Linked DNA regions of Homo sapiens: all the other regions are linked to region 3. The links are contacts of gene promoters, found by promoter capture Hi-C in blood cells and fetal thymus (Javierre and others, 2016). All regions are on one chromosome and are shown on one strand. The core of a region is centred on a gene start or on the middle of the fragment in contact, and the rest is flanking DNA. Distances in the headings are between cores, read along the strand shown.

Region 1 (3,340 bases), core at 516-3,015, 780 kb before region 3:
TAAAGCTACTCTTTCCGATTGCTCTAAAATTTCAGAACACTCTATTTCTATTCTTAGCATATTGTAGGACAGCACCACACAGTTCATGAAGCAGTCCAGTCCATGGGTCACACTTTGAGTGGCATGAATCTTAGTAAAACACACACACACACACACACACACTCACACGATATTCCAGTATTCAATTCAGATGCCAATGTTTTTGTTCTCTAGCTGATAATGAAAAAAAATAAAGCTCTGCTTCCTATTAAATTTGTCAGACACTTATATAAACCATCAAGGAATAAAATTAGCAAGTTCATGATGCTCATGTCAGACTCCAGGAATATGTTCATACATGATTATGCCTTACTTCAAATCATCCCAAGATTAAAACACAGAAATGAGGGTCAGATTATCACTCATTTTATAACAGGTTGTACATTTAGTGGAATCATTATAATGAGACTCATTTTATATATCAAAATACCATGGTGATTTTATATTTATCTATTTATATAATATAATCTGTATATTTACCTTCTATATTTATATATACATATACACAGACTTATAGAAACATTTTATTGTGTAAACTAGTATGGTGAATTTTTTAAAAGCTATTAAAATGTCGTATACTTAGGTAACAAGTGGTTTCCTTTATTCTAGGTGAGTTAACATTATCTACTTGAGAATCATCCTATACAAGCTAAATAAAAAATTGATTAGATATCACCTATAAATAAAACTGACCTATTACTCTTCTAAGATGAAAACAAGTTGCCCTTTTTTATTATTACTAAAATAGCTCCAGATTAATGAAGGATGCTCACTAATCTTCTTAAATTATTCTTCATCTTAAAATACAACGTTTGAAACTATGTACACATAATCCTGAAATCTCTGGTCGGTCAAAGCTCCTTAAGTTGGGGTGAGTTAATAATTTTCCTCAAAGTTCATCCAAATGTGCATTCCAGAGAAAAGCATGCTTGAGGCTAAACATGGTGTCAATACTGACTGATTTACTTATTAGCTGGCACCCATGCCAGTAATCATACCTTGGGCCAACTGTATAGAAAGGTAAAGATATACTTGATCACATTTATGACAAGAATTGTATAGACGCAGAAGTCAACTCTTACTTTGAAGCTGCACAGAGCTTCCATCACATCACCTGGCAGAAGGAAGAACTATTTATTGAATTATGGAATGCAACTGTTGATTCCTCATTTATCATAGGCTGTGGAGGTCACTGCTGCCCAAGCTTACTTTTCTGAGAAACAGGAAGTCATCAGGGTGCCTGGGCCACTAATTTGGAGCCTTGGTCTTCTGTATATCTTGTGCATTGCCAGTTTGCTGATTTGACAGTAAAGTGATGTGAAGGTCAAAAAAAAAAGGGAAAATAAATTGGGAATTATATTCCAAAAGTCATGTCCACTGATTCAATGGAAGTGTTTAAAACATGTTTAAAACATGACTGAGCCAAGGGACTCTGTGCCAAGTCCCTTCCTACCGATTGCTCTCTCTGGGAGGTTTATATTTCCCTCCCCATTGATATCAGGCTTGACGTGTTGTAGGCAAACAAATGTGAGTACAAGTGACATATGCCACTTCCCAGCAGAAGTTCTAAGAGCCACTCTGTGGTTCCTCCGTTTCCTTTTTTCTCCTATTCAAGACAAATATGTCCCAAATGGATAGTGCTCATTAAGCCTTTGTTTCAGAAGGAATTGGACAAAGATCAGAGCTACTGTCAATCTGTGAGTTTTGTAAGTCATAAAATTTTGGAGTCCTTTGTTAATGCAGCAAAACTTAGCCTCTGCTGACTGATACAGTGGCTTTGTCTCACTGCACATCCACATCTTTAGGAGAAAAGCCTGCACCACAGTGTCTGTTGAAGACTTGAGGGTAAAGCTGAATTTTCTCAAGTCCTCACTAAAGAACTCAACTGGCAGTGGTGGTACTGGAGAAAGATGATCCTGTCCCCCTCAGATAGGATGGGTTACACTGGTGAGAGGCTGTCAAAGAGCAATGTTAGCATTCAGAGGATGGCATGAGAAGAGGAGGATGTAGGCTAATACAACAGCAAAAACTGAGAAGAAAACTCAGGAATGAATAATGTCTGCTCATTTATTCAGTTCCTGTCCCCAGTACCTAGAATACAACAGGCAGGTAATAATTGTGGCAGAGAGGAAGGGAAAGGAAAGATAAAGAATCAAACATTACTCCAAAGATAAAGCATGTGCAGGCCCTGAGAAAATGAAAAACACTGTGTACAAGCAACCAGATACAAATAGTAAAATAAGCTTGGCTGATACTTTGCTATAATGTATAAAACTTTAATTTAAAAAGTAATGGCAGCTTCCATTATTTGAGTACTTATGTGTCAAGCACTGTGCACAGTATCCATCATTTTATTCCATTATTTCCCAAACCCTGCACAACTGGTATTAGTAAGCCCATTGCCAATGAGGAGACAGGCTCATGAACATAAAGAACTAGACCAAGACTGAACAGTTAATGAGTTGTCTAACTCCAAGCTTGTGTCTTCAACCTCACATTTTGCTGTCTTCCAATGTCCAAAAGTTTTTAAAAGTAATTATAATGAATGTTCATAGCCTCACTGTAAATGCCCCAAATTAGAAAAGGCTCCAAATATCCATCAACAGTAGAATGGATAACTAAATCCTAGTAGGATTAGATAATGAAATACTATATGGAAATGAAAATGAATGAACTATATAACTACTTACAGCAATGAGGAAGAATCAATTTCCCAAACATAATCATGAACAAAAGATGCCAGGCCCAAGTAAGTACCTACTATATGACCATATGGCTTGTTCCATTTCTATAAAGGACAAGACAGGCAAAATTAATCTATGCAGTTGGTAGTTAAGATACTGGTTAACCTTGGGAGGGGTAGTGAATAAAAGGCACAGGAAGGAAGCATCTAGGGTGCAGGTAATGTTCAATTAGTTTACCTGAGGGCTGGTTAACGAGAGTCCAGTTTGTCAATAAATCATCATGGTGTACACTTATAATATGTACATTCTCCTCTCTATGTATTCCACTTCAATATATGTAGTGTAAAATTTTAAAAAGATGCACCTGCACAAGACATTTACTGATCTATTCTTTTAATGTGGACTAAAATATCATTTAATTTTAAAGTATATATCATATTTTTCCAAGTTTTGTAAATCTTAATATATAAATATAAAGAAATAAATCATTAGAGATTAAAAAGTAAAGTTTGGAGGGAAACAACCAGCTAGGAATCAGATCTGTTTTGCTATATTTTTGTGTTTTCTAACTAGGTGGACACTCTTGAGAGCAACACACTTAACCTCACTCTTGGTCA
Region 2 (3,319 bases), core at 1-2,500, 1.0 Mb after region 3:
CAATATAAGATACAAATCCTTATTTCCCCCATCTTACAGATGAGGAAACCAAGCCTTAAAGTTGTTGCATAACTTTCTCAAGGCCACATAGCGAGTAAGTGATAGAGCTGTGAACTTGATTTCACTAACTAGATTATTAGCATCTATACTATAGTTCCAGCAGAAGTAGAGACATCACTGCTTCCACTTCAGCTGCAAAGATGATTGTCATCCTTTACACCTGTGATTAGTTTCTTATTGCTGCAGTAGCAAACTACCATGAACTTAGTGGTTTAAAATACAAAAATGTATTACCTTGCAGTGAGATCAGAAGTCTGAAATGCATTTCAGGTGTCTTAAATTAAGGTGTCAGCAGGGCTGCACTCCTTCTGAAGGTTCTAGGGGAGAATCCATTGTTTGCCTTCTCTAGCTTCTAGAAGCCACCCACATCACTTGGTTCATGACCACTTCCTCTGTCTTCAAACCAACCATTGTGCCACTCCACCCACTGCTTCTGTCGTCACATTTCCTTCTCTGACTCTCACTGGAGGCTGTATCTTTCACTTACAAGAATTCTTGTAATTACATTGAATCCACTCAGGTAGTCCAGGATAATCTTCCCATACCAAGATCCTTAATTTAAAAACACCTGCAAAGTCCCTTTTGCTGTGTAAGGTAACCCATTCACAGGTTCTGTGGATTGGGATACGCACATCTTTAGGGAGAGCCCTTATTTTGCATATCACACACTGCAATGACCAAGTTATAAAATTACAATTAAAAATTGTTTCTAATGTATAAAAAGGGAAAGGAAGCAGATTGCTTCCACCTTAGCACATTTCCTGAGATGAAGTTCCATATTTAAATGAAGCATTGGAATTGATATTGTCTCATTAATGCAGTAAAATGATTAATGTGATGTGCAATAGAGGGATGAAGAAAATACACAGGATCACCTCTTTTCAACACTGATGAGAACGAGCTGGCCTTGGGTGAATACAGGAGTTCTGTTTCAAGTGATGAGATTCGGCCCCATAACATAGATAACTGAAATATCTCTAACTATGGACCATTAGACAGCATTTGAATTATCACACTGCCAAATCTACAAACTATGAGTTTCTATTCCTAGCTCCCAATTCAAGAGGGTGAAATATACATTGATTCAGGTTCAGGAGAGGATGCTCTGCCCTCACTGGGGAAATCAAATTGCTGGCCAAGGGCAGAGGAACCTAAAACGTGTGTTAGAGAAGAGAGATGATGGGCAGAATTGTAGCTTTTCCCATAAAAACTCCTGTAATAAGTCGTGACCAGTCAGCCACTCCCTTACTATGATGATGTCAACTTAACAGGGGTCACAAATGGATCTGGGTATTGCAAGGGGTGAGCAGTAACAAATGCTAATTTTCCCTACTCGTCTCATCCAGACCCCTCAGAGTCTCCCACCAAATTCCTGCTGCCAATGTCTGCATACTTAAGCCAGAATTTGCTTTTTTTCTTGGAACTACAATCAAACCATACTATTCGTGGCCAGCAGGCTGAAAGTGCCTGGAATTTAAAACCCTCTAGGAGTAGCCCTTTGCCAATGACTCTCAGAAATTGGCATGTAAATCTCCCACACCCTTGCTTCTCTACTGGGAAATTTCTGAAGCATGTGTTTTGCCCTATTTCCTGGAGTTTCCCATGGGATTAAGCTCTGGTTGCTCACTGGGATATCTGGCTTAATAATGTTTCTTTTATTGATTGGCTGTCTTATCTTCACTGTATCATATTAAAGCGTTTTGCATCTCCAAAATAAACCTGGATCTACCTCAGGATCTAATTCTGGAGTAATTACACAGTTGAAACTTGGGTGACCACCCATCTGGTTTGGTAAGGACAGAGGGTGTTCCTGGGACATGGGACTTGCAATTTTAAAACCAAGACAGTCCCAGGAAAAGCATTTCAAATTTGCCTAGAACTTGTAGCTTTTCAGGATGTGGGACTTTCAGTACTAAAACCTGAGAACTCAGGTTGGAACTCAAAGTGGTCCTAGGAAACAGATCTCTAGAATTGGTCTTTGCAGCTAGAAACTAGCAAAATGGCAACAAAATTACCATTGCTAGTCACGAGTGGAATGGTGTGCTATGAAATCATAACTGCTGAGACTCTTACCTAAGATTGAATTGGGATGGGGCACAGCTGGAAGAGGATGCACTAGCTTATGCAATTTCTCTAGCACTTGAGAGATAGGGTGGCATTGGCCATTGGAAAGATTATGGAATTGGATAGTTGGACCAAGTACCATCAATGAGCTGAAAGAAGAAAATGACAGGCTCAAGTGAGCTGAACACCAACCCAGGGTTCAGTATGGAAAGCCAGAGGCCTCTCCGGCATCATTTAAAGAGACTCTCATCTTCTGCAGGCAGAGAAAAGATCAGGCTGAAAATCGGGGCTAGGACCTGATGTGAGAGAACTGTCTAGAGTGTTGAAGCAACAGCCCCAGCCAACATTCTAAGGCAGAGCATAGATAAAGAAGATGGAAAACCCTGAGATATGTCCAGGGAAAGGGACATCTGTGTAAATGCACTCCAGACTCTTGAACTCTCAGATTCTCCTTAACCCTCTGAGACTTCAGAAGTTATCTACATCTTATTCTTAGAATATAGCATCCTTTCCTTGCTGGGAGACCAAGCAGAAGCTTCACCTAGGAGGCAGCCTTGGGAGATGATACTTGCCTTCCTCAAGATCTGTCCCCACGTTCTAATATGGCTTGAGTAAGGAAGCACTTACTCTGCTTCAAGAAGTAAAGAATTATTTAATAACTGTGTTTCAAGTTCTGGTTAATAGGTAGCTACCGAAACTAGGAAAACAGGTGTGGCAGTGAACTTTGAGAGTTCTGTACCCTTGGGGTAGGGGAAGGGAGCAAAATATAGTGCTGGGTAATGGAGTTTATTGATATGGAGGCATTCACCATACAAGGCAAACAAAGAATCAAACCATCCCACCTCTTGCCCCCCGCATACATACACACACATGAGTATCTACCGATGACACTTAAGAGTTGGATTATAAATTCCTCTGCTCCTCAGCCCTTAGGTGAGGTGTTTCTGAGTTGTGTGCTTTACAGATTTCCCAGAGTTTCTTCAGGGGATTAAGTTTCTATCACGCACTATGGCAGGTGGCTTGGTAATTAACTCTTTTTTGACTGCCTTCCCTTTCCTTTCATACTTCCCCACTCCTGTTCATGTTTTCTTACCATCCAAATAAGATGCCTCCACCAAAACAACTGCCTGAAGGTCTGCTTGTGGGAGACCCTAAACCAAGGCATAGAGGTACATATCTCATTATAAAAACTTCA
Region 3 (3,075 bases), core at 487-2,986:
TGTCACTGAGTTAAGTTTTCAGTAATCTTTCTAGCTACATATTGACAAATAAGTTTTATTATAAAACCATACGGAATAAATTTATAAGCTCTACCTGAAAAGTTACAGGTGTAGCTTACAATTTTGAAAGTGAAGGAACTAAAATTTAGCACCATATAGGTGCTATAATAATTCTCAAAGTAGCATTGTAAGAAGGTGACTCTATCTGAGAGCTGAATAAATAGTTTTAGATGGTTTAGGTAGGTCATTTCACCAAAGCTGTACAATTAGAAGTCTTGGAACTGTAACTGTACAGCTAATTTCAACCCGAATCTGCCCCAAATCTCCTCTGCAGACTACTTAGCTGTTTGAAAGTACTTGAGTTACTTGGTACTACTTGTGTACATGACTAAATTGTTAGTTTTAACATGCAAGTTTTTACTGTAGTTAGATAAAATTATTGGAAGATGATTATAACTTCTTAAGGGGTTCAATCTGATTTTTTAAAAGAAAAATAATTCTTTTTTGCAGAGTTCCTTGCAGTGGGGTAAAATATTCAAATATGGGAGGCAGGCATATAAGGTAAATAATCACAGCAGGGAGGGTGTAATAGGATGAGTGATAGGGGTCTGTGGCAAACTGGAGTGAGTGAAAATTATTTGGTGACCACTCTGGCTGACTATTCCCATGCTTGGTATTCATATTTTTCAAAAGCAGCTGGAAATCTAGATTTTTGAATGAAATCTGGCTTTTAGTTAGGATTTTGTCTTTAACTTGGGCCCAAACCAAATATAGCTGCAGACTGGATTAGGAAGGCCACCAATTTAAGGTATTTTCCCATGTCCAAATGTTCGAAGAGAATGCACACAGAAAAGGTTATGTTTTAAGTAATATGCACAGTGCACATTGTTAGGATAACAGCTTTAGTGCTTCCTAGGTGTCTTAGTCCATTTGGACTGCTGTAACAAATTGCCATAAACTGGGTGGCTTATAAGCAGTAGCAATTTGTTTCTTAACAGTTCTAGAGGCTGAGAAGTCCAAGATAAGGAGCCGGCAGATTTGGTGTCTGGTGAGGGCTGCTATTCTGGCTTAGAGTTGGTGCCTTCTTGCCGTGAGCTCCCTTGGGCCTCTCTTATAAGGGCACTAACCCCATTTATGAGGGCTCCATCATCATCTAATCATCTCCTAAAGGCTCCCCTTAATACTGTCCCATTGGAGATTAGGTTTCAACATAGGAATTTGTGCAGGGGACACCGACAGACCACAGTATTAGGGGTATTTTGACTGCAGCAATGAGTTTACTACTATTTTGAGAGAGAGGTTGTGCTTTATGCACCATGTGTTCCACGAGTTGGACACAGTGTTCATACGTGATCCTGTCTTTTAGGCAAGCCCAAACAAGTGTTTCTCCTTACAATACCAAGTTAATACAGAGCTTATTAAATATTTGAGACAAAGGGCTAAGAGAAGTGTGAGGCCCAATTTCCCTTTGCAATTATTGCTGGCAAGGTGCAAGCTTTTAGCACGTGAACTATTTTCCTGGAAAGCACACACACGAAAACTTGAATATTCCTTCCGGGGAAATCGACCTCTATCGGTAGCCATAGCTTCCCCTTCGCTAAGAACTGCTGTAAGCACGAAATCGACATCAATAGAAACCCTTCCGCGTTCCTCGGTAACTAACGGCAACCCTGCGCTCCCGGATGTGACGTCAACGTTCTTCTGTTCTTCCGTCTGTCGACCGAACTCTGGGCTCGTAGATTTGGTTGCTGTGTACGTGGAAGAAGCAAGCGCATGCGCACATGGGCCCCCTTCGTCTCAGCTGTGCGGGAACGGCCGAGGGTAACATCCCGGGCTCGCGGGAGGCTGTCGGGGTAATGGCCACACGCTGACAGAACCAGCCGAGTGGAAAAGGGGAGCGAAGCCGTTCCTCTGCACCCTTCCCCAGGCCTGAGGCCTTCCCGCTTGGTGCTGCCGCCGCCACTGCCGGCTGAGGAGGGGCGATGAGTTGGTTCAACGCCTCCCAGCTCTCCAGCTTCGCTAAGCAGGCCCTGTCCCAGGCCCAGAAGTCTATTGACAGGGTTCTGGACATCCAGGAAGAGGAGCCGAGCATCTGGGCCGAGACCATTCCGTATGGAGAGCCGGGTAAGAGAGAGAGGAGCGGGGTTCCTGGCTCCCGGAGGCTGCTGTTCTCTTGATGCAGGCAGGTTAAGTGGTGTAGAGAGGGGTCCTTCCTTGCTGAGAGAGTTTTCAGGAAGTAATTTCTCCCCGGCCCGTTCCCTAATGCTGCTTCAGCCTCCAAGTCGGTCTTTGCTGTTTTCCTGAGGGAAAACCCAGATCCAGGTTCCCCCTTGTCTTTCTTTGGTCCTGGGTGCGAGGCTTGTGGACTTGGATGACAGGGGACTTGGTTGGTTGGTCTTGCCCTCAAGCTCTCCCTCGACGCAGCTTCCAAGCACAACCTTCCCGAACCTGAACCTCGAATTGCTTCGCGTCTCGGGCACTGTTGGGATCCAAGGTCTGAAGTACGTAAATCATCAGGGAAGGGAAGAACAATCGCTAACAGTCAGTGAACATTTCGCGCTTGGTAGCGCGTAATGTGGTTTTATGTTGTTGTTGAGACGGAGTCTCACTCCGTCGCCCAGGCTGGAGTGCAGTGGCGCGATCTCGGCTCACTGCAACCTCCGCCTCCCAGGTTCTAGCGATTCTCCTTCCCCAGCCTCCCTAGTAGCTGGGATTACAGGCGCCCACCACCACGCCCGGCAACTTTTTGTATTTTTAGTAGGGACGGGGTTTCACTATGTTGGCCAGGCTGGTGGAACTCCTGACTTAAGGCGATCCACCCACCTCGGCCTCCTAAAGTGCTGGGATTACAGGCACGAGCCTGTAATGTGCTTTTTTATGGCCTTCTCATCTTCAGAACAACTCCCAGAGAGAGCTTGGTTTATATCCGTGTTTTACATAAGAGGAAAATGAGGCCCAGAATGGCCAAGTAACTTGCTCTAGGTCACACGGCGGAGGAGGATTAGAATGTGCCGGAGGTATTAGCCGGAAAATGTGTGACCCAAGATTTCTGGATGGTATCACATTTTATTTCTG

What was found. Contacts are between HindIII fragments. The CHiCAGO score rates a contact against its expected background, and 5 or more counts as called.
Region 1: a contact is called between a fragment that was not itself captured here and the fragment with the promoter of TMF1 in region 3, in 1 of 17 cell types (M0 macrophages). The highest score is 5.2, in M0 macrophages.
Region 2: a contact is called between a fragment that was not itself captured here and the fragment with the promoter of TMF1 in region 3, in 2 of 17 cell types (total CD4 T cells and naive CD8 T cells). The highest score is 6.0, in total CD4 T cells.

Annotation. Positions count from the first base shown.
Region 1 is chr3:69,825,768-69,829,107 of GRCh38, reverse strand. All of the region lies in intron 1 of MITF (melanocyte inducing transcription factor), which reads right to left. Among named protein-coding and RNA genes, the nearest start is that of MITF, 88 kb to the right of the region's middle. The HindIII fragment of the contact is 1,039 bases long and covers 1,246-2,284 here.
Region 2 is chr3:68,054,965-68,058,283 of GRCh38, reverse strand. The region is part of intron 2 of TAFA1 (TAFA chemokine like family member 1); the gene reads right to left. Among named protein-coding and RNA genes, the nearest start is that of TAFA1, 52 kb to the right of the region's middle. The HindIII fragment of the contact is 2,823 bases long and covers 1-2,661 here.
Region 3 is chr3:69,050,994-69,054,068 of GRCh38, reverse strand. It overlaps TMF1 (TATA element modulatory factor 1), which reads left to right and starts at 1,736. Exons shown (of 17, transcript NM_007114.3): 1 at 1,736-2,124. The coding sequence starts at 1,983. RefSeq lists an enhancer at 1,675-2,144. The HindIII fragment of the contact is 2,649 bases long and covers 1,498-3,075 here.